4 separate regions of the Homo sapiens genome follow, and all the other regions are linked to region 2. The links are contacts of gene promoters, found by promoter capture Hi-C in human tissues and cell types (Jung and others, 2019). All regions are on one chromosome and are shown on one strand. The core of a region is centred on a gene start or on the middle of the fragment in contact, and the rest is flanking DNA. Distances in the headings are between cores, read along the strand shown.

Region 1 (5,979 bases), core at 2,936-5,435, 670 kb after region 2:
TGTAATTCCAACACTTTGGGAGGGAGTTTGAGACCAGCCTGGCCAACATGGTGAAACCCCATCTCTACTAAAAATACAAAAATTAGCCAGGCCACGGTTGTGGGTGCCTGTAATCCCAGCTACTTGGGAGCTGAGGAAGGAGAATTGCTTGAACCTGGGAGGCAGAAGTTTCAGTGAGATGAGATTGTGCCACGGCACTCCAGCCTAGGCAACAAGAGTGAAACTCTATCTCAAAATAAAATAAAATAAAAATAAATAAATAAAAATAATTTGGGTCACCCCTGATTATTTCCTGACCCCACCCCTAATATTTTACCCATTGAAAACCTGCCAAAATGCAACTGGGACCAGCTTTCTTCAATGGGGGCAGCAGAGAGGGTCTGACTGGGATGTGGCTGTGTGTTTGCTACGAGAGTGAATTTCTGTGTTTCTGTGGATGCATGAGTGTGTGGAGTAGGCGATGGTGGTCTTGTCTGTGTGGCTGGACTGTGGGGTCTTCCTCGTTGTCTGTCTCTCAACACTGTGGAGAGGCAGTATGGGGGTGCCTGTCCCACCTCTCCCACCCACAGGATGTGTGACCCGGGGCAAATGACTCACCTCTTTGTGCCTTAGTTTCTTCATGTATATAAAAATGTGGATGATGATAATAATAGGGTTATTCTGAAGATTAAATGAGATTGCCCATGTAATGTGCTTAAAACAGTGCTGGCCACTTATGAGAAAGTAGCTAATACCATCAGCTTATATGTAGTAGACATGCTTAAGTGTGTAACCTGTGGGTTTCTGTATATTTATACAGGACACCTGTGGTGTACAATGGAGAGGATATGAGGGCCTGGCGGGGACGAGCTCTCTGTGATTTGTGGGAGGGGATGTGCTTATATGAGTGTGTGCACAAACGTGTGTGTGTGTGTGCACATACATGTGTTGTGTGTACAGCAGATGCCTGCGCCTTCTGCACATGTGCAAGGACGTTCACTGCCAGGACCCAGGTTACCACACAAACAGTCTCCATCCCTAGGACAAGTCACTGAGGCTCACGTGTGCCTCGGTTCCTTCATCTATACAATGGGTGGAGTCACTACCCCAAAGGGAGCTGTGAGGCCCAAGTGAATTGAGGATGTGAAGTTCTGAGCCAGTGCAAAGTGCCAGTTACATAGGAGTGGCTTGTGCTATGCGTTCTGAGAGAGCCGGGCTTACTTGTTGACACTCCTGGGTTCCTAAGTGCCATGGCTGTTTGTGTCTGCCTTCCCTGGGCTGCAGAATTTGCCCTGGTGTATCGAAGATCCCACCTGTTGTTGTCCGAAGAGCCAGAATTGGGAACCTATCAAAGAGAAACTGGGAACAGCCTTCTTCAGTGGGGGCAGCAATTTCAGTTCAGTTTCTTCAGTGGGGCATCCAAGGCCCAAAGAAGGATAAGAACTTGCCTTAAGACACCCAGCACACTGGAGGCAGAGACGGGGCTAGATCGAACGAGTCTCTCTTGTCCTTCTGGCATAGTGGGAGAGCCCCCATAGGGGTCAGGGGTCGCAGCCCTCACCCCTCACTGCTCTGCCCTCCCCACCTTCCCCAGCATCCAGCAGGAAGGTCACTGCTCCAGCAGGAAGGTGTGTGCTTTGGCAGCCGCACTGTCTGGGCTGCCTGTGGTGGGAATTCCACATGTCTGGAGAGGACCCGTCTGGAGTAGCCCAGTCCCAGCCCCCAGCCCTGCTTCGCCAGCTGGCCCAGGGTTTGGCCTGCTGCCCCGAGACTAGGTTCAGCCTGGGAATCCTCAGAGCTTGCTAGAAGAGTAGTCTGAGGATTGCAAATTCTTCACCTGTGTTTTTTATATAACACCTTTCTGTTGTAAGTCTATCCCCTTCTATTACAAAAGTAATGCATTTTATTTTTGGGGAATACAAGTAATGAAAGAGGAGAAAATTGAACTCTTTCTTAACCTAGGACTTCAGCAACTCAGAGACTGAGACTTTAAACACACACACACACACACACACACACGCACACACGTCCATTATCTACATACTCATACATTCACCTGGGGACACATTTGACTCAAGAACACTCAAACACACACACATGTAAGTATACTTGCACACACATACACAAGTGCATACATACTCTCACAAGTACACACGTACACACAAACACATTCACACACACATTCCTAGAGTGCACACAGTGTGCCAGCCACTGTACTAAGGCTCCACAAATGTTCACTCATTTCATCTTCGCAGTAATGCTACAAGGTAGGCACCGCTATTTCTCCCATTTTACAGATGAGGCACACAATGGTTGAGTAACGTGCCCAACACCTAGTTAGTGAGGGGGTGGGATAAGGGAAATTTGAACCCAGATTTGTGGGCTTAATTCATTTGCTAATGAATAGGCTGTGTTTGAGTGGCATCATAACGAACATCACCCTAGGCTTTTTTCCTTATGCATCTATATTTGGTTTGGTTAGAAAATGGCATCTTTGGCTGATACAAAAAAATTAGCCAAGTATGGTGGTGCGTGCCCGTGGCCCCAGCTATTCAGGAGGCTGAGATGGGAGGATCACCTGAGCCTGGGAGGTGGAGGTTGCAGTGAGCCGAGATTGTGCCACTGCACTCCAGCCTGGACGACAGAGCGAGACTCTGTCTCAAAAGAAAAAAAAAGAAAGACAGCCTGTCCAATATGGTGAAACCCCATCCCTACTAAAAAATACAAAAATTAGCCAGGTGTGGTGGTGTGCACCTGTAGCCCCAGCTACTTAGGAGGCTGAGGCAGGAGAATCGAGGTTGCAGTGAGCCGAGATTGCGCCACTGCACTCCAGCCTGGGCGACAAAGTGAGACAAAAAACAGAAAGAAAAAAAAAAGGAAAGGAAAAGGAAAAGGCATCCTTTTAGATACTAACCAGGCCTGGGGTCAGATCTGGACTTAAATCCTGGCGTGATTGCAGACTGGCTGGCTTGACTTTGGGCTTGTTCTTTCTCCTCTCTGGGGCTCAGTTTCCTCATCTATGAAATGGGGAGCTATAGTACCTGCTTCTGAAGGTTGGCTGGGCTTTTGTGTAAAGCACTCAGCCCTGGGCCTGGCACATAGCAGGGGCTCACTAGATGGGCCATATTAACTGTCTGCTCCAAGGCTGGAGGGTGTTATAGGGAAAACAGTCAGAAAATACTCTCCAGATGCAAGGTGGCCTTAATATGTCAGGATGTGGAAGGCAGAGAGAAGCCTCGGGGTCTGGGATCTCCCATAGGGGATGAGTATTTTTTCCTGGAATCCCTGCCCTGTTGCCACATCACTACCCTGACCATTTGCCCAGCCCAGCCCTACATGCTTCAGGTGAAAGCAGAGAGAGAGGGGCGGGAGAGAAAAGCCCATCAAGCAGCAGGCGGAGCCTCCCTGCAGGAGTCTGGCCTGGCTGGAAGGGGAGGGGGCTGTGGGGCCAGGGACGTCAGATGCCAACAGCACCAGGGGACCGTTAAAGTTGCTGCGCCGCCAGGTGGGCCAGGGTGTCTGCAGAGGTCCCCGGCCTCCTGGGCTGCCGCCTGCCACCGCTTGGGCTGCCCGTCCTGGGTACGCACCGTTGGAGCCTCCTGCCTGGTCTCTCGTGCTTCTCTGTCTCTTCTCTAAGTCGATTTTTCGCTCTTTCTTCTGTTTGTGCCCCTCTCTCTGTCTATTTCTGTCCTCCCCCAGCCACATTGTTGCCTCTCTCTCATTCTCTCTTATCTCTTTACCTTTCTATTTCTCATTCTTTTTTCTCTGTAACTCTTTTTTTCTGTCCCCTTTTTGGTCTCTCTTTTTTCTCTGCCTCTTTCATTCTCTGCCATTGGGTTTTCTCTGTGTCTCATTCTCAATTCCTAAATTGCAGCAAAGCAGGGACAAAAGGACCTTGCAATATGACTTGGGGTAAGGTGGGCCCTGCCCTCCGAGGGCATTGACTGAGCCCGCTCCAGCAGGATTGGTGAAGAGGATGTCTAGACTGGAGAGGGCTGCTGTCTGTCTCCTGGGCTGGAGGGACAGAGCACTGGCTTTGAAGTGGTGGCACCATCTCACCCCAGGGCCATGTCTGGATTAGCCACTGTCTGGGCATTTCTTCCCCTTGCCCAACCCACTCAGTCCCCTGGGGTGGAAAGGAAGGGGTGCTGGGCATCTGGACCAGAGCTGCATCTGGAGGTCTTTGCCAAGTTCCCAGGAGGCAGCATCCTCTGGGTCGGCACTGTTGGAGAACGCTCAGGGTCTGGTGCTCTCGTGCCTGCCCCTTCCAGGCAGCCGGCTCTGATTGCACAAGGCAGACCTGTGACTCCTCCATCCAGCTATGCCCCTGCTGCCCAGCACCGTGGGCCTGGCAGGCCTGCTCTTCTGGGCTGGCCAGGCAGTGAACGCCTTGATAATGCCTAATGCTACCCCAGCCCCGGCCCAGCCCGAGAGCACGGCTATGCGGCTCCTGAGTGGCCTGGAGGTGCCCAGGTACCGCCGGAAGCGCCACATCTCTGTGAGAGACATGAATGCCTTACTGGATTATCACAACCACATCCGGGCCAGTGTGTACCCACCTGCCGCCAACATGGAATACATGGTGAGTCCCCGTACCTGCCCCCCACCCCCCGCAGTGTCCCTTCCGGCAAACGCAGCCGGACTCATCTTGGCCTAGAATGACTGGCTTTGAAGAGCTGGACCACTTGCCTGCCTGGCCCCACTAGCCAGTATCTGGGTGTCGACCTGTGGAAAGGGCAGGAGTTAATCTGCCCATTTTACAGATGAGGAAACCAAGAAGGTTGCACAGCTGTTCCAGTGAGTCAGGCATGTGACTACTATGTAAGGAGCACCACTGTGCGCCAGGCACTGCACGTGAGTATCATCTCCATTTTCCAGAGGAAGAAACTGAGACTCAGAGAATTAATTTGCCCAGCCAGGATTTCAATCCAGGTCTGCCTGCTGCCACCTGGCACCATCACAACTGTAACCATCACAATCCCCTACCCAAGAATTTTGGCTCCCCACACTGGGGACCTGCATGGGGTGCGTGGCTGGTGCTTTCTATGCTATTGTCTCTTTACCCTAAGGTCTTGACTGACACACCCACAGCATCCTCCACAAGCCCCTGGAGGCAGGCTTGGAGCAGTGGGGACAGGTACTGGGGAATCTCAGGCTGAGGAAAACCAACAGCTGACCAGCAGAGGAAGCTGGGATGTCTCCCCTCAAAGAGGCAGGGCTGGTGGCTCTCACTCCAGCCCCCAAGAAGTCAAAGGAGGGCACCAACCTTTTGCTTACAGCTCCTCCCCCAGGGCCACTGTCCAAAACCAGCCTAGAGGGATGGGTTTCCAGCCCACCCAGAGATGTCTTTAGGGAAAGAGTTTGCCAGTCTGCCCCCTGAAAGACCAACACATGCCACTCGATAGCCTGAAAACTTAACTTTTTCATCGTATCCATTGACTTATACTTGGAGTACACTTGCAGCCAGGCACCGTGCTAAGCCTTGTGGATACTGCTGGTAACAGAATAGACAAGGCCCCTTCCTTCACGAAGGTGACATTTTAGTGGGAATAAGAGAAAACAAGCATGAACAACAAGATATTAATGTACATAAGATAACGTGAGGAGGCAATACAGTGTTGGGAGGGGCGGGAATAAGAGCCGGGATGGCAGGCAGCTAGAGTGCAGGGGAGTCATTGACTTGTTCATTCATTCGTTAGCACCTAGAATGCCCTCCATTTTTCAAACAAATGGCACATTTATTGAGCACCCGTTGTGCGTGTGTGGCACCTGCCCCAACAGGTGTTTAATGATTGCAGGCGGCATGGAGCAGAGAGGGTTCAATATCTCACCAGGGACTCCAGGGAGGGCCTGAACATGTAGGTTTGATGTTTAGCCTGCTCCTTCCCTCACTTTACCCCTTTGTAGCATGAGGGAAGCACTCCTCTGCTCTCCCTAAAAGACTGAGCCAGAGAGCCGGGCGCAGTGGCTCACGCCAGTAATCCCAGCACTTTGGGAGGC
Region 2 (6,190 bases), core at 3,691-6,190:
ATCTAGCTGTGTTATCCAGGCTGGTCCTGAACTCCTAGCCTCAAACTATCCTTTCACCTTGGCCTCCCAAAGTGTTGGGATTACAGGATTACATGTGAGCCACTGAACCCAGCCAACAGGTGTATGTAATAGTTTAAGGAGACTTGGTATTTAGGTTTTGATTTAACAAATTTTTTTGTACAGACGGGGGCGGGGGGTCTCACTATGTTGCCCAGGCTGGTCTCGAACTCCTGGCTTTACACAATCCTTCCACCTTGCCCTCCCAAAGTGCTGGGATTATTACAGGTATGAGTCACTGCACCTGGTCCCAAATCTCTTTTTGAGACAGAGTCTTGCTCTGTCACCCAGGCTGGAGTGCAGTGGCACAGTTTGGGCTCACGGCAACCTCCTCCTCCTGGGTTCAAGTGATTCTCATGCCTCATCCTCCTGAGTAGCTGAGACTGCAGGTTTGTGCCACCATGCCCAGGTAATTTTTGTATTTTTAGTAGATATGGGGTTTCACCATGTTGGCCAGGCTGGTCTCAAAGTCCTGACCTCAAAGTAATTTGCCTGCCTTGGCCTTCTAAAGTGCTGGGATTACGGGCATGACCACTGTGCCCAGCCTGAATCTCTTTTGATGACCCATATTTTATGAGATACAATTCAAACTCTAGCATTCCCAGCTTTCTCACTTGAGGTCCAAGCCTTTCTAACTCTCCAGCCCAAATGTTAGCTTTGTAACATTGCATCCACTCAATTTAAATGGAATGTGTAGAACCCCTTCCATGAGTACCTACCAGAAGCCAAGCTATAGTAAAGGTCTGAAGCTTAAAATGTGCACAGGCTGTCCTTTCTCTTGAGAGAGAAATAAAATGGTGGAGGAAGTGTGATGAGGACAAGAATGATAAGGAGGATGCTCTGGAGGTGGAGGGGGAAGACTCCAGCCAGAAGGGCCATGTGATTCTACTTATCATCAATTAGTGTTTGGTGTCCAAGCTGGTGCTGAGCCCTGAGCATTTAATAAATTGATTTGACCCTTATCTTCCCAACACAGGGTCAGGCCTGGGGGTTGGGGCAAATTGTGGAATAACCAAATACCTGGAGCCTCCCTGTCCAAGGAGGGCGTGTTCAGGAAAAGTTTCCCAGCAGAGATAAATTCTGTATGTTACTAGTCCAGAGTCCAGGGACCACTCCCAGGTGTGGTTTCACTCGGGACACTGGGAATCCTCTCTCCAGGGGATATCTGTTGGTATGATGATAACTGGAGAGGAAATGTGTGGAGATCATCAGATTCCATCTGGCACTAGGGTGATCTCCCTGCTGCCTGACTCACAGCACTGACTCCAGGCTTCTTTGGCTCTGGGGCATTGGTTAACTGGCCCCAGTTCCAGGTTGCAAGTGCACTCTGCAGCTGTTCCCTGCCTCTTGCTTTGGGCAGATACCTTGCCCAAGCTGTCAGGTCCTGCCTCTCCCTGAAATGGGATGACTAATGTGTGGACCTCAAAGGATAAGAGTGAGGGCAGCTGAAGAATTACAGTAGTAATAATAGCTAACAGTAATATAGTTCTTTTTTTGCTGGGCGCGGTGGCTCACGCCTGTAATCCTAGCACTTTGGGAGGCCGAGGTGGGTGGATTGCCTGAGATCAGGAGTTTGAGACCAGCCTGGGGAACATGGTGAAACCCCGATCTCTATTAAAATACAAAAAATTAGCCAGGCGTGGCGGAGTGCTTCTGTAACCCCAGCTACTCGGGAGGCTGGGGTTATTGAGACGGAGTCTTGCTCTGTTGCCAAGGCTGGAGTGCAGTGGCACGATCTCAGCTCACTGCAACCTCCGCCTCCAGGTTCAAGTGATTCTCCTGCCTCAGCCTCCTGAGTAGCTGGAGTTACAGGTGCATGCCGCCACGCCCGGCTAATATTTTATATTTTTAGTAGAGATGGGGTTTCACCATGTTGGCCAAGCTGGTCTCAAACTCCTGACCTTAGGTGACTCACTCGCCTCAGCTTCCCAAACTGCTGGGATTACAGGCATGAGCCACTGTGCCCGGCCAATATAGCTCTCATTATGTGCCAGGAACTGTTTTTGGTGCTTTACACATATTAATTTATTTAATCCTATAATTACCTACAAAGTATAGTGATTAAGAGCATAGACTCTAGAACTAGACAGGCCAGGTTTGAATCCCTGCTCTGCCATTTACTAGCACTGTGACCTTGGGGAAGTCTGTGCCTCAGTTTTCCCATCTGCTAAAAGAGGATAATCCCAGTATCTACCTCATAGAGTTGTTACAAGGATTAAATGAGTTACAATTTATAAACAGAATGCTGGCTGGAAATATTAGCTGGGCATGGCGGCGTGCTCCTGTAACCCCAGTTACTTGGGAGGCTGATAGTTTAAAAACTATCTAAAATTTTGATAAATCCCATTTTTCCAGGTGAGAAAACTGAGGCACAGAAGAGTTAGGTAATTGGCTGGGCATGATGGCTCATGCCTGTAATCCCAGCACTTTGGGAGTCTGAGTCGGGTAGATCACCTGAGGTCAGAAGTTCAAGACCAGCCTGGCCAACATGATGAAAACCCATCTCTACAAAAATACAAAAAATAGCCAGGCATGCTGGCGCATTCCTGTAGTCCTAGCTACTCGAGAGGCTGAGGTGGGAGAATCATTTGAATCCGGGAAGTGGGGGTTGCAGTGAGCCAAGATCACACCACTGCACTCCAGTCTGGGCAATAAAGCAAGACTTGGTCTAAAAAAAAAAAAAAAGTTAAGTAATTTGCCTAAGATACCGCAACTGAATGGTGGAGCTGGGACTCAAACCCCAGGAAGTTTGGCTGTGGAGGCTGTGCTTTCAATGAAGTGGGCATGTCCACATTAATTACTTTATAAGGGGAGTGGGCGGGAGAAACCCTGAATTAAGTGATGTGGAAGCTTCTAGCACTTAAGATGTGAGTTAGTCTTCCTTCTGTGGTAAGTGAAGTTTGCAGCAGCTGGTGGCTGGACTGTCCCCAGGTGGCCAGCAGCTTCTGGAAGGGGGCTCTGAGGCCTGAACAGGGGCTAAAAGGCTGGGGTTTGATTTGGTTTCTTCAGCGTCCTGTCTCAGAGCTCATTTATCTTCCTCTCAGCACTGCTCCCAGGAAGTCCAGTGTGACTTGATCCTTGGTACTTGGTAAATGTCAATCTAATATAGAAAACCTTTGCTAAATCTCAAGGAAAGACAGTCTCACTGTCTGTCGCCCAGGCTGGAGTGCAGTGGCGGGATGACAAGGGCTTGAGCCCCTCGAACTCCTGGGCTCAAGCAATCCTCCTGCCTCTGCTTCCCAAGTAGCTGGGATTACAGGCATTCACCACCACAGCCAGGTAATTTCTTAATTTTTTGTAAAGACAGGGTCTCACTCTGATCCCCAGGCTGGTCTCAAACTTTTGGACTGAATCAGTTCTCCCACCTCGGCCTCCCAAACTGCTAGGATTACTGGCATGAGCCACTAAATCTGGGCTAATCTCTGGGAGTTTAAACCCAAGGTAAACAATTCAATGCAACAAACCTTTGCCTGGGGCTTCTTATGTCAGGTCTTCTACTGGGCCCTGGAGATACTGGTGTGCATTGAGAGGCCACCTGGACCTCAGGATGCTCCCAGTTCAAAGGGGGAAATGCAGAAGTCTACAGGCAGATTGTGGGCAGTGGACCCCAAATTAAATAGGAATCAGCCACGTGGGAGGGGCAGGAAGTGTTCCTGCCCTGGGTAATGGCTCAGGCAAAGGCAAAGAGGCCGTTTCTTTTGGCCAGGGCTGGGTGGTGGTCTGGAAGATCAGATAAATGTGATTGTGGAGTAAGGAATTTACCCTGAGGGAGAGGAGGATGGTTTTAAATTCTGGAAAGAGCTCACGCCTGCAATCCCAGCACTTTGGGAGGACAAAGCGGCAGGATCTCTTGAGCCCAGGAGTTTCTAGACCAGTCTAGGCAACAGCAACATAGCAAGACACCCCCTTCTCTTAAAAAAAAAAAAAAAAGCGCAGTGGCTCACTCCTGTAATTCCAGCACTTTGGGAGGCCGAGGCGGGCGGATCACGAGGTCAGGAGACCTATACCATCCTGGCCAACATGGTGAAACCTCGTCTCTACTAAAATACTAAAAAAAAAAAAAAAAAAAAAAAAAAATTGCCGGGCGTGGTGGTGTGCGCCTGTAGTTCCAGCTACTTGGGAGGCTGAGGCGGGGGAGTCGCTTGAACCCGGGAGGTGGAGGTTGCAGTGAGTCAAGATCGCGCCACTGCACTCCAGCCTGGCGACAAAGCGAGACACCGTCTCAAAAAAAAAAAAAAAAAAAATCAGCCGGGTGTAGTGGCGAGTGCCTGGTCTTAGCTACCCGTGAGTTGAGGTAGGAGGATCGCTTGAGCCTAGGAGGTGGAGGTTGCAGTGAGCTATGATCGCGAAACTGCACTCCAGCCTGGGCGACAGAGCAAGACCCTGCCTCTAAGAAAAATGAACAACAAAAAATAAAGTCTATTAAGGAGGGTCTCTTGGAGGCAGGAGAGGAAGCAGGGAGAGGCACAGGTAGGGTGAGGAGCCGCTTTAGGGTGCGGCTCTAGGGACCCAGTAGTGGCTTGGACTAGCGTGGGGGATTCCGCCCTGGCGCTTTCCCTGGCTGGCTCTCCCATGCTCGCGCCTCGCTCCCCTTCCTCGGTCTTCGCTATGTGGGATACTCCTGGGCCGCCCCGGACTGACACGTGAGCCAGGCCTCGGTCACATCCCGGCCCGCTCCACAACTCCGAAGTAGCGGCCGCCGCCCCTGTCCTGCAGCCGGCCCTGGAGGGTCTGGGCAGGTGCCGCCCCGCAGGCCCCGCCCCGCCCCGCCCCCTGGCTCCGCCCCTCACTCAGGCCCCTCCCCCGGCGCCCGCGCGCCAGGACTGGGCGGCGCCGACGCGCTTGGCGGGAGATAGAAAAGTGCTTCAACCCGCGCCGGCGGCGACTGCAGTTCCTGCGAGCGAGGAGCGCGGGACCTGCTGACACGCTGACGCCTTCGAGCGCGGCCCGGGGCCCGGAGCGGCCGGAGCAGCCCGGGTCCTGACCCCGGCCCGGCTCCCGCTCCGGGCTCTGCCGGCGGGCGGGCGAGCGCGGCGCGGTCCGGGCCGGGGGGATGTCTCGGCGGACGCGCTGGTGAGACGAGCCGGGAGGGCTTGGGCCCCTCCCCCTCCCTTTAACTCACCCCTCCCCCACCCAGATACCCCCGACCCTCCCCAGGCTCCCACCAAGCTGGGGTGTGTGTGTGTGTTGGGGGTGGGGTGTTTCCGCGGAAATGCTGCGTCCTGGGCCCTCTGAGGCAGGGGCGCGCGTAAAGCTGGGGGGCTCTTGGGCGTCCCTCGCGGCTCCCCAGGCCTGTTGGGCCTCGGAGCTGGGACGGGCGGGTCTCTTGGGACCCGGGCCAAGCCGTGCATGATGTCATTTTGTCTCCCGCCTAATTGCGGGATGGGGGTGGGCCGGCCGGTGTCAGCTGGCAGGGCCTTCGCCGGCGAGGGAGGCGACCCCTGGGAGCGAGAGGGAGTCTTCAAGTCCCAGCCAGTGGGAGACCGAGCCTGGGAGGCACTTGTTGCAGCCTAGTTTTGGGTCAACTTGGTGGGTGGGCTTTGCTCCTTAACATTCCGGGGAGCACAGAGTCCCCCAAGCCCTCTCCCCTGGACTGAGAAGGGTGCTGAGTTGGGGGCTCTTTTGTCTCTCCCACCTGGGTTCCGCGCCCCAGCTTGGTTCGGTTTGAGACCTCTCTTCCTGTTCCCACGAGGAGTTTTGGGCAGCTGGGGTTGAAGGTGCGGGGGAGAGAGAGAGTCCCTGGGGCAAAGGCAGGAACTGCGGTCTCCATTTTACTTATTTCCCCAGAGACTTAAGTGGCAGAGCTGAGCCCGGAGCCAGGTCTGTGGCTCCAGATCCCTGTCTTACACCTGTGCGCCTGGGGCCTGAGCTCCAAGCTTTTCAGCCTGCCTGGGAGACAGGACAGTGGGGTCCTGACCTCTTCCCTGCCTGGATCGCTGCAGCTCAGATAACCTTCGTTCCCTCTTTTTTTTTTTTTTTTTTTTTTTTGAGAAGGAGTCTCGCTCTGATGCCCAGGCTGGAGTGCAGTGGCGCGATCTTGGCTCACTGCAACCTCCGCCTCCCAGGTTCAAGCGATTCTCCTGCCTCAGCTTCCCGAGTAGCTGGGACTTCAGGCACGTGTCACCACGTCGGG
Region 3 (5,417 bases), core at 2,073-4,572, 970 kb after region 2:
CAACCCAGTATCTTTGTTCTTAATCGCAGCTGGTGAGTGGCAGAGGCGGAATTCTAACCCAAGCCCAATTCCAAAGCTTGTGCTCCAGGTCACGTAGGCAGCTCCCGCTCTCAGCCAACTAAATAAACTACTTTAACAAAAGGGATTGACCCAGATGTCCCAAACTAGGGAAGAGTCACAGCATATTTCAAAATTCAGGATCCATTTTCGTTTTCTTTTTTTTGAGACGGATGGAGTCTCGCTCTGTCTCCCAGGCTGGAGTGCAGTGACATGATCTCCTCTCACTGCAACCTCCACCTCCTGGGTTCAAGCAATTCTTGTGCCTCAGCCTCCGGAGTAGCTGGGACTATAGGCAGGTGCCACCACGCCCAGTTAATTTTTGTATTTTTAGTAGAGACAGGGTTTCACCATGTTGCTCAGGCTAGTCTCGAACTCCTGACCTCAGGTGTCCACCCACCTCAGCCTCCCAAAGTGCTGGGATTACAGGTATGTGCCACCGCAACCGACCCAGGCTCCATTTTCAAAAGCAGATGCTACTCAAGCATAGCCTATCAGGAATCAATATTAGGCAACGGAAGATCTTTCTAGTACTCTAGAGTTTAAGAGTAGGATCCTTGGAGGCAGCCCATCTGGCTTGACTCCCAGTTCTGCTGTGTGACCTCAGACAAGACACTTGACCTCTCTGAGCCTCAGTTTCCTCAACTGAAAAACAATGGAATATTATGCCCCCGTGTCCAAGAAAAATTGTAAGGATTAAAAAGGGCAGTGTAGGTGGACATGGATAGCCCAAAGGAAACAGCCCCTGCCGCTCAGTCAGGGTGTTTACCATGAGCTGTTAGGAGAAGCACAGCAGGCAGTGGGAGATGGTGGGGAAAGGGACTTTGCTGTTCCTGCTGTTCCTGTTCCAAATGATGGAAGCTTTCCCCCTAGCTAGGGGAGATCCAGAAAACTCTCAGCTGACATCTCATGCTGGGGTGGGGAGCATGGAGAGCTGGATAAGAAAGTTGGCTGCCCTGGCTCAGGGAGGAACAGCCAAGGAGCTGCTGGCCCAAGGGCGTCTAGGAGCACATACATGAGCTGCCTCCTGCAGAGGAAACCCAACCCAGGCCCAGGGGAGGCCAGCAGGGAACAGAGACACCAGAGGTCCTATCAGCAGGACCTCAGAGTCATCAGATCTCTCCTGAGGTCATCCAGCTGGCAGGGGACAGAGCGGTCTTCACACCCAGTCTCAGGGCCAACTTAGTTGTTGAATTCCCTGACAAAATGAGTTCAGTTCCCACCCAGCCAAACGTCTGTTTCTCGGGTTCTCAAAATATGCTCAGCATTGGGAATACTGAAGCTTATAGCCCAGGGAACGGCCAACCAGCTGTGTGACCTCAGGCAAGGGACCTCAACTCTCTGAGCCTCTGTTTTCTATCCTTAACCCTCACAGGGCTATGGAGAGGGCCCAGCCAGAGAGCCGGAGTCACACTGTATAGAGCATCATGCGGTTAGAGCTGGAATCTCGGCTCCTCCACTCACTCCCTGCTTGACCCTGAGAAAGTCACTTCACTTCCTGTGCCTCGGCATCCTCATCTGTTAAGTGGGGAGAATGGCAGTCCTTCCTTCTAGGCTTCATGAGGGTTAACTGCATTAGTAGGCAGGGAGTTCTTGGCACATAGCAAATGCTAAATAGTTGTCAACTAAAAGTCAATGAAGGCTGGGCATGGGGGCTCACGCCTGTAATCCAGCCACTTTGGGAGGCCGAGGTGGGTGGATCACCTGAGGCCAGGAGTTTGAGACCAGCCTGGCCAACATGGTGAAACCCCATCTCTACTAAAAATGCAAAAAATTAGCCAGGCGTGGTGGCGCACACCTGTAATCCCAGCTACTTGGGAGGCTGAGACAGGAGAATCACCTGAACCTGGGAGGCAGAGGCTGCAGTGAGCCGAGATTACGCCACTGCACTCCAGCCTGGGCGACAAGAGCGAAACTGCATCTCAAAAATAAAAAATAAGAATAAAATAAAAGTCAACGAAGGCCTGCGCTCCTGCTGGATGCTAGATTGTAGAGTTAAACAGGAGGGTCCAAGTCCTGTTCCTGGGGCTTGTACAGGCCCCAGAGTGGGAGAGGCATTAAGCAAATGTCACATGGGAAAATGTACAGTCACAAACCAAGACGACTCCTTGGGAAGTACGAACACAGTCCTATGACAGAGGGTAACAAACAAGAGAAGTGAATACATCTAGAGGGCCAACAATGAGCCTGAGCGAAAAGCTAGAGGATAGCGAGGAACCCACAACACAAGGCAGGGGTGCGGAGGGAGGCAGGAAGAAAATTCCAGGCAGAAGGAACAGCATGTGCAAGGCCCTATGGCAGGAGAAAACGGGGTATATGAAATGGATTAAATAGAGGTTCAGAGAAGGGAGGGTTCATGGTACTGGAGAGGCTGCAGGATAGGACCACCCAGGCAGGGCTGTGCGGGCCACGAGGAGTCAGGCTTTATCTGGAAAGCACACAGAGGCCATTGCAGGGTTGGCAGCTGGTTAGAGAAAGAGGATGGCTCCTCCAAGGCCAGTTAGAGGCTACTGCAGCCATTTGAAAGATGACGGTGGCTTGGACCAGGGTTGTGAGGTGCATAGAGGAAAAACAGGTGGATAGAAAGAGATGCCAAGGCTCACACTTCAGGTTAGGCCTGGGTGGGGAGCAATTCCCGCAGTTTGAGACAGAGAACTCTGGAAGAGAAGACCAAGTCCTGGAGCTCCCTCCAGGAGGGAGGATGCGGGGGAGGGAGGCATGATTGGTTTGGTTTTAGTTATGTTACACTAGAGACACCTTTTGTTTTTTGTTTTTTTAAGACGGAGTTTCACTCTGTTGCCCAGGCTGGAGTGCAGTGGCTCCAGCTCAGCTCACGGAAACCTCCACCTCCCGGGTTCAAGCGATTCTCCTGCCTCAGCCTCCCGAGTAGTTGGGACTACAGGCACCCACCACCATGCCCAGCTAATTTTTGTATTTTTAGTAGAGATGGGGTTTCACCATATTGGCCAGGCTGGTCTTGAACTCCTGACCTCAAGTGATCTGCCCACCTCGGCCTCCCAAAGTGCTGGGGTTACAGGTGTGAACCATCGTGCCCAGCCAACTGGAGATGCCTTTGAGATATCCAAAGGTAAGTGGAAGAACCCAGTGGGATACAAGAGTCTAGAGCTGGCCTGAGAAGCCCAAGCTGGGAATGTAGGTAGGAGTGTGGGTAAGCACAGAAGCTGTGGGCTTGAAGGAGCTCACCTAGGGAGAAAATATCAAGGGAGGTAAGGAAAAGGCCTAGGATGAAACTTTGACCAGCACAAGCACTTAATGGCCTTACGGAGGAGGCTGAGCCTACAGAACTGTGGCCAGAGAGGTGGGAGGGTGTGTGGTATGCAGAAGGCCAGGCCGTCAGATGTCAAGGAGAAGCGAGCAACGGTTCACAGGGTTAGCATAGTGGGCTGAATGGTGGCCCCCACAAAGCTGTCTACATGCTAATCCTAATCCCCAGAACCTGTAAATATTACCTTATATGGGTCGGGCGTGGTGGTTCATGCCTGTAATCCCAACACTTTGGGAGGCTGAGGTGGGTGGATCACTTGAGGTTAGGAGTTCAACACCAGCCTGGCCAACATGGTGAAATCCCCTCTCTATTAAAAATACAAAAATCAGCCAGGCATGGTGGCATGCACCTGTAGTCCCAGCTACTCAGGAGACTGAGGTAGGAGAATCATTTGAACCTGGGAGGCGGAGGTTGCAGTGAGCCGAGATTGAGCCACTAGCACTCCAGCCTGGGCAACAGAGCAATACTCCCTCTCAAAAAAAAAATATTAACTTATGGCGGGTGGATCACCTGAGGTCAGGAGTTCGAGACCAGCCTGGCCAACATGGTGAAACCCCATGTCTACTAAAAATACAAAAGTTAGCTGGGCATGGTGGCAGGTACCTATAATCCCAGCTACTCAGGAGGCTGAGGCAGGAGAATTGCTTGAACCTGGGGGCAGAGATTCCAGTGAGCCGAGATTAAATCACTTTACTCCAGCCTGGGTGAAAGTGCAAAACTCCACCTCAAAAAAAAAAAAAAAATTACCTTATATGGCAAAGTGTGATTATTAAATGTCTTGACAGGAAGAGTTTATCCTGGATTATCTGGTTGGGCCCTAGATGCAATCACATGTATCCTTATAAGACAGAAGCAGAGAGTTTTAAGAGAAACACACACAAGAGGAAGCAGCAACGTGACCTCAGAGGCAGAGACTGGAATGATGCAGCCACAAGCCAAGGAATGCCTAGAGCCACCAGCAACCAGAAGAGGCAAGGAATGGATTCCCCCGAGAGCCTTCAGTGGGCATGTGGCTCTGATGATATCTTGATGTTGGACTTCTGGCCCCCAGAACTGCCAGGGCACACGTTTCTGTTGGTTGAAGCCATGCAGGGTGTGGCAACTTGTCACGGCAGCCACAGAAAACTCACATGGTCAGGCCCTGCTGGAGGTCACAGGATGGAAGGGCAGAAACTTGTCCGTCGGGCTAAAAGCGCAGGCACTGGGGGCTTCAGAGGAGTAGTTCTTAACCCCGGCTGCAAGTTAGGAGCACGGGAAGTTCTGGCCAGTTCCCAAGGCCTCAACCCCATCTGAGGTCAATTAAAGAAAAATCCTTGGTGGCAGGCCCAGGTGGAGGACTTTTTTTAAAAAAACACGTAGTCAAGATTGGGAACCACTGCCGTAGAGGAACCGTTCTAGAGGCCTGAGTGAGGGTAGAATCCACATGGGAATAAGGTAAGAAAGAAGTGGAGGTAAGAAGAGGAAGAAGGTTTAGACTACTCTTTCACAATTTTGCCCCTAAAGGAACTAGCAGCCTTGGAGGGGGCAGGACGTGCATGTGGGTCAAGAGAATGGCAGGCTTTTTCAAAGGGGCATGTCTTGGGCAAGTTTAAACACCCATGGGGATGATTGAGGCTGAGTGAAAGGAGTTGCATGAGGTTACTGGGAAGGTAGGAGGAAGTCAGAAAGTCAGAAGGTCAAACCAGGCCTGGCCTTGGAGCCCCTGAGAACAGGAGGATCAGGCAGTGAATGGGGGCGGTAGTCACGTCCGCTTGTGGGTGGGACTGGTGGGGGGAGGTCTGCATGGCTACTTCTGGCTAAAGTATTTATTCATTTATTTATTTGTTGTTGTTGTTTTTTTTTTTTTGAGATGGAGTCTGGCTCTGTTGCCCAGGCTGGAGTGCAGTGGCAAGATCTCAGCTCATTGCAGCCTCTGCCTCCCAGGTTCAAGGGATTCTCGTGCCTCAGCCTCCCAAGTAGCTGGGATTACAGGCGCCCACCACCATGCCCGGCTAATTTTTGTACTTTTAGTAGAGACAGGGTTTCACCATGTTGGCCAGGCTGGTTTTGAACTCCTGACCTCAGGTGATCCACC
Region 4 (6,147 bases), core at 3,278-5,777, 850 kb after region 2:
GAGATCTACAAGCCAAGGAACATCAAAGACTGCCAGCAAACCAAAAAAAAAAAAAGCCAGGGGAGAGGCATGATACAGATTCTCTCTCACCACCCTTAGAAGGAACCAACCCTGCTGACACCTTCATCCCAGACTTCCAGCCTCTAGAATTCAGAGATAAGAAATCACTGGGTTTAAGCCACTCGGTCTGTGGTACTTTGTTATAAAGCCCTGGCAAACTAATAAACTTACTTACCTATAGTTGTCTTAAGAATGTAAATATCTCGAAGGGGAGACTATCTTTACAACGTTATATCTTTTGTATCTTTACAGAGCAGGTACTCAGTAAATATCTGTGGGACAAATCTGTCCTACTATATGTTATGTCATTTTTCTATTTCAGTAAATGACAACTCCATTCTTCCTGTTGCTTGGGCCCAAAACCTGGAGTCATCCCGAATGCCTTCCCTTTTCCCAAAATCCTCATCCAATCTGTCAGTACATCAGCTCTACCCTTAAAATATATCCAGAATCTGACCATTTTCACAGTATCCTTAGCTATCACCTTTGTCCAAGCCACAACTATCATCTCTCATCTGGATTAAGCGCAAAAGTTCCCATCTCACAGCTGTAGCGACCCATTCAGAAGCTCTGAGTTGGCCGGCACAGTGGCTCACGCCTGTAATCCCAGCACTTTGGGAAGCCAAGGCAGGCAGATCACCTGAGGTCAGGAGTTCAAGACCCGCCAGGCCAACACAGTGAAATCCTGTCTCTACTAAAAATGCAAAATTAGCCTCAAAAAAAAAAAAAAAAAAAAAAGAAGCCCTGAATTGTTATAAAGATTATTTTAAGCTTTTAAGCTGAAGCATCTGAGCTTCAACAGATGCAGAGGAAAAAAAAAAGCCTTCTGGGAGCTTCTCTTATCTGACTAAAAGCAGCAACTTCTGGGAAACGAGGCTGCCATAAAGTCCCTCTCCAGGGCAGTTTTAAGATCATGAAGAAGCTGGAAAGACCCACCATACCTGCATAAACAAGTACTACCACAAACGTATTTCCTATTTATTCTCCTAAAAAAACTTGTCTTTCCTAAAGAAACCTATTTGTTCTTCTCATAGAAGCCTTTCTCCCAGCTTCCTTTTTCCTACTAAATTAGAAAGCCTTGGCTGGGTGCAGTGGCTCACACCTGTAATCCCAGCACTTTGGGAAGCTGAGGTGGGCAGATCACCTGAGGTCGGGAGTTCAAGACCGGCCTGACCAACATGGAGAAACCCCATCTCTACTAAAAATACAAAATTAGCCAGGCGTGGTGGCACATGCCTGTAATCCCAGCTACTTGGGAGGCTGAGGCAGGAGAATCGCTTGAACCTGGGAGGTGGAGATTGCAGTGAGCCAAGATCCCACCATTGCACTCCAGCCTGGGCAACAAGAGTGGAACTTGTTTTCTCAAAAACGAAAAAAAAAAAAAAAGCCTCAAGTTCTAACCGCCCCCTTTGAGTTACTATTACTGAGCACTCCTGTGTGTACATGTCTTGCATGCATAAACTCTAAATAATCTGTTTTGTCAGTTTAATTCACAAGCCCCCAGAAACAGAACCCAAAAGGCTGGAGGAAGATTCTTCCCAGCCTACACTGCTTTACCTTTACTTTTCTACCATCTATTCTCCACACAGCAACCAGAAACCACCTCGTTAAAACACAGGCCCAGATCACATCACTCCTTTTTTCAAACTCTGTAATAGATTCCCATATAACTTAAGAGTAAAAGCCGGGCAAGACGCGGTGGCTCACACCTGTAATCCAAGCACTCTGGGAGGCCGGCGGATCACGAGGTCAGGAGATTGAGACCATCCTGGCGTGAGCCACCATGCCTGGCCTTCAACTCACCAGGATTTTCTAATGTGATAGAAGATAAAAGAAAAATTGTACAGTAAACGATTATTTCATAAAACTTTGTCTCTATATGGGTGCATCAGATCACAGATCAACTATGTACAATCTTTCTTTAGGTCAAGGTCAGAATAATTAGAAAACCACTGCTCTCAAGAAAGCCCTTAAAAATGGAACACTCTTTTGATTTAGGACCAACAACCTTAAAATACATTCTGTTCCTAAGAAATAGTGGAATGAAGCCAGGCATGGTGTCACACACCTGTACTGGGAAGGCTGAGGTGGGAGGATCACTTGAATCCAGGAGTTCAAGGCTGCAGTGAGCTATGACTGAGCCACTGCACTCCAGCCTGGGTGACAGAGCAAAACTCTGTCCCCCTCCAAAAAAAAAAAAGAAAAATAGTAGAAAGAGCTGAAACAGAATCCTTGGTGTAATACTGTCAAATATATGTATGTTTGGTTCCCATTTCCTGGCATACAATTTCTAAAATCCTTGGAATAACCAGCGTCTTTTTGTATGCTAATGAGATGACTGGTGACTGGCAGCCCCTAGGTGGCTTCATGATGGGTGAGGGTCATAGTAGGAGGTTGGGACTTTTCAGTCTCACCCCTGACCCTCCAAGGAGGGGCTGAAGGTTAGGTCAGTAACCAAAAGCCAATGATTTAATGAATGCTGACTACATAATGAAGCCTGCATAAAAGCTCAGAAGGACAAAGTTCAGAAGAACTTTTGGCTGGGCATGGTGGCTCACACCCCAGGAGTTCGAGACCAGCCTGGCCAACATGGCGAAATCCCGTCTTTATTGAAAATACAAAAATTAGCTGGGCGTGGTGGCATACACTATAATCCCAGCTACTCCGGGAGGCTGAAACATGAGAATCCCTTGGAGGTTGAAGAGAGCCGAGATGGCGCCACTGCCCCAGACAGAGCATGGAAGCTCCAGACCCGTTCCCTCTACACCTTGTCTTACATATCACTTCATCTGTATCTTTAAAAATATATTAATAGTAGCCATAAAAAAAGAAGAAAATCATGTCCTTTGCAGCAACAAAGATGCAGCTGGAGGCCACTATCCCAAGTGAATTAATACAGAAACAGAAAACCAAATACAGCATATTCTCGCTTACAAGTGGGAGCTAAACACTGGGAACACAGACACGAAGATGGCAACAATAAACACTGGAGAGTCCAAGAGTGGGGAAGGACGGTGGGGGGATAGGGGTTGAAAAACTACCTGTTGGATACTGTGTTCACTGTTTGGGCAACGGAATCATTAGAAACCCAAACCTCACGATAAGGCAATATACCCATGTAACAAAACTGCATATGTACCCTCTGAATCTAAAATTAAAAATACATAAATACACAAAATAAAATACTTTTATAATAAACCAGTAAACATGTTTCCTTGAGTTTTGTGACCAAATTAATCAAAGCCAAGGAGGGAGGTCACGGGAACTTTGATTTATAGGTGGCCGGTCAGAAGCACAGGTAAAACAACCTGAGGCTTGCCATTGGCACAGAAAGTGGGCACAGTCTTGTGAGACTGAGCCCTCCACTTGTGTGATTTGATGCTATCTCCAAGTAGAGAGCTTCGGAATTGACTTGTAGGGCACCAAGTTGGCATCCCCTGCAGAGCTGACTGTTTGCCTGATGTTTGGGGGAAAATCCCCACACACCACACATCAGGTGTCAAAAGTGTGTTGTGAGTACAGCAGGAGAAACTGAGTGTGCTTTTTCTACACACTTGGTCAATTAAATCAGCTGGAGAATGAGGAATCAAGGAATCACGCTCCTCTGAAGTGGGTAAATGAGGGAACTCAGCATATTCTTTTATAGGCCCTATAATTTTCTCTTTAAAATGTTTACAGTTTACAAGGTGATTAAACCTTCACTTCACTGTCACAATCGTTCTCGAAGAGAGGAATGCTGGGGTGATTATCCTCGGATAAATGACTTACAGCAGTCCCAAAATATTCAGGCCCTGGTTTCCAATTTTGAATAACAATCCACAAGGGCTTCTTTCCCTTGCACCTGAACTGCAGACAAGCCTCCGCTAAAACCCCAGCTTTGCCACACACTCTGTAGTTTTGGCAAATCCCGTGCTAGGGGATAAAAATATTACTTGAGCCACCTAGAACTAAATGATGGCACCTTAAGAGGTGCTTCGGGAGGAACCGGAGCCCCTCGCTGGGAGCTGTCATTCCTTGGTCCCTCTCCAGCTCCAGAGGAACCTAGTCAGGAAGCCTCGCAGGGCGGAGCCATCCGAATTGTAAACAATGGCGGCCTAGCCTCTTCCGTTCCCCGAGGAACCCGGAGGGCGAGCCGCCTAAGCTGGACCTGAGGGTATCGCGGATTTGCGTCTGGGGCCCCGGAGACCCTCTGTAGCCCAGGGCCTGCTGACATCCCGAGAGCCTCTGGAGCCAAGGCCCGTGCAGCTCTGGTCTCGAGGCCTTTCCCCGCAAACCGCAGGTCCGGCGAGGACTCGGGACCCCGAACTCACCCAGCTGGCGAGGGAGAAGACACCCAGCACAGCCCCCATGGTGACGCCAGTGATGGAGGTGGCCGGTCCTGAGGCTGCTTTCTAACACGGTGGTAACTGCCAGCTGAGGTGACTCCCCAGAAACATGACGGTTTCTCAGGCCGGAAACGCAGCCTTCCACAGACGCACGGATGCGTCACGGCGTGGCCCCGCCCACCGTCCGCGACCGGAGCGGCAGAGGGGGGCGCCTGTCATTGGCTGAGGGGGAAGGTGGGGCTAAACCATCCTGGGGTTGCAGGAACTGTGAAGGTGTCATTCCTTACATCATTTGTATTCATTGTGCAAAGATCTGGAAGTTACAGAAGTGTACAGAGAGGCACAGTACGCTCAGAATTTATTCTCTAGTTAATAGGAGATCTGACAACATAAATGCACCGTGCCCCAATGTAATGAATACGATGAAGTAGTATGGGGGAATAGGCTTTCAATAAAGGTGTATTTAGTGCCTCCTATTGTAAGGGGAAAGTAATTTAGCTGGGCAGTAGTCTTGGAAGGCTTCTCTGAAGGATTTATTTTTTAATCTGCGAACTAAAGGATGAGTCCAAATTAACCTAGAAACGATGGAAATCGTATCCTAAAATGTGGGATGCACCCCATTTGGGAAAAATGAATGGCTCTAAGGGTGCATGAAGGACATTAAGCGATATTAAACAGCAGAGTGAGAACGTCCCATTTCAAACCAACAGGCTAGTTGTTTGAGGCCAGTATGGTATTTAACATTTTTCTAGTATTTATCTCCCTTTCTAACAGAGTAAAGCCTTCATTTTCCAGATCTCTCAAACAGGCAACCATGCCTGCAGTTTTAAAATATTGTTTTGTTTTGAGGTGTGTGTTAGCAATAACCTTTTCATTTCTTCCGAGCAATGCTGATTTCCCATTTAAGCAGTGATGTAAATATTCCTTTCAAAATACATGTCAAATTTGAGAGTTCACTTAAAGAAGAAAATGAAAACATTTTTTACTTACACATATAATAGTTTAGGTGGAATGTGGCAAACAATGATGATGTCCGGACAACAAGGTGTCACACTTCAATATCTTCTCCTGTGGTGTGTTAATCTTCCCTGATAGATAAAACTCTCTGGAAGGGGATTCATAATTGAATTCCTTCTGGATTGTCAGCCTTTAGTCTGATAAGGGAAATTCATGAAAAGCCCCTCTCTCCATGTGCTGTTCCCCAAGCAATCATCATACCAGTGTGGCATATTTGGGGATGTTATTTCCTGGATTCCTTGAAAATGTATTCCAAATTCATCTTTTACAGAAATGGAATGAGGCTCAAAGTTTGCCCAAGGCCATGAAAAGGGCTGATGAAAGAAGAAAGAGAACTACTCACATTTAATAATTCCTACCTCTCTTTTCCCAGATCCCTCTCCTCACCACACATACACAAATACCAGCTCAAGTCAAGTTGCTTCAGGACCACTGAACTTTCCAGGTAGTCCTTAACATTCTTGCTTCTTCCTGTCTGAGTATTGCTGGTCTGGACTTAAGAGAGCTGACTGTGATAAATTTTACAGATCGAATTCTACCAGAAACATACCTGTAGTCAAAAAGAATTAGGTTTATTTAGCTTGTTCAGAAAGGGAGAACACATATCAGAGAAAATATAAGGTGTCTTGGTAAGAGGTGACTGGGGAGAACTTATTTTAGGATTTGGGTTTATGCTGGGTAACTAAATCTAAGGAGAGTTTAAGGAGGAGGAGAACAGTTTTGGATTGGACACAGTCAAGGAGTA

The links. The method cuts DNA at HindIII sites, captures the fragments that hold promoters and counts their contacts. A contact is called where the count stands out against the background at its distance.
Region 1: a contact is called between the fragment with the promoter of R3HDML here and the fragment with the promoter of MYBL2 in region 2, in 1 of the 25 tissues and cell types used here (pancreas).
Region 3: a fragment that was not itself captured here is called in contact with the fragment with the promoter of MYBL2 in region 2 in 1 of the 25 tissues and cell types used here (spleen).
Region 4: a contact is called between the fragment with the promoter of SERINC3 here and the fragment with the promoter of MYBL2 in region 2, in 1 of the 25 tissues and cell types used here (aorta).

The regions. Positions count from the first base shown.
Region 1 is chr20:44,332,858-44,338,836 of GRCh38, forward strand. R3HDML (R3H domain containing like) reads left to right here and starts at 4,186. Exons shown (of 5, transcript NM_178491.4): 1 at 4,186-4,561. The coding sequence starts at 4,301. RefSeq lists enhancers at 1,102-1,613, 2,868-3,857. The HindIII fragment of the contact is 19,264 bases long and covers 1-5,979 here.
Region 2 is chr20:43,662,174-43,668,363 of GRCh38, forward strand. MYBL2 (MYB proto-oncogene like 2) reads left to right here and starts at 4,941. Exons shown (of 14, transcript NM_002466.4): 1 at 4,941-5,130. The coding sequence starts at 5,111. RefSeq lists silencers at 4,736-5,030, 4,767-5,146 and enhancers at 4,736-5,030, 5,797-5,846. The HindIII fragment of the contact is 5,433 bases long and covers 1,857-6,190 here.
Region 3 is chr20:44,636,597-44,642,013 of GRCh38, forward strand. The region is part of intron 1 of ADA (adenosine deaminase); the gene reads right to left. Among named protein-coding and RNA genes, the nearest start is that of ADA, 12 kb to the right of the region's middle. RefSeq lists enhancers at 1-5,405, 1-78. The HindIII fragment of the contact is 5,650 bases long and covers 498-5,417 here.
Region 4 is chr20:44,517,543-44,523,689 of GRCh38, forward strand. SERINC3 (serine incorporator 3) reads right to left here and starts at 4,528. Exons shown (of 10, transcript NM_006811.4): 1 at 4,371-4,528. The coding sequence starts at 4,409. RefSeq lists enhancers at 3,739-4,291, 4,210-4,519, 4,426-4,720. The HindIII fragment of the contact is 6,058 bases long and covers 1-5,182 here.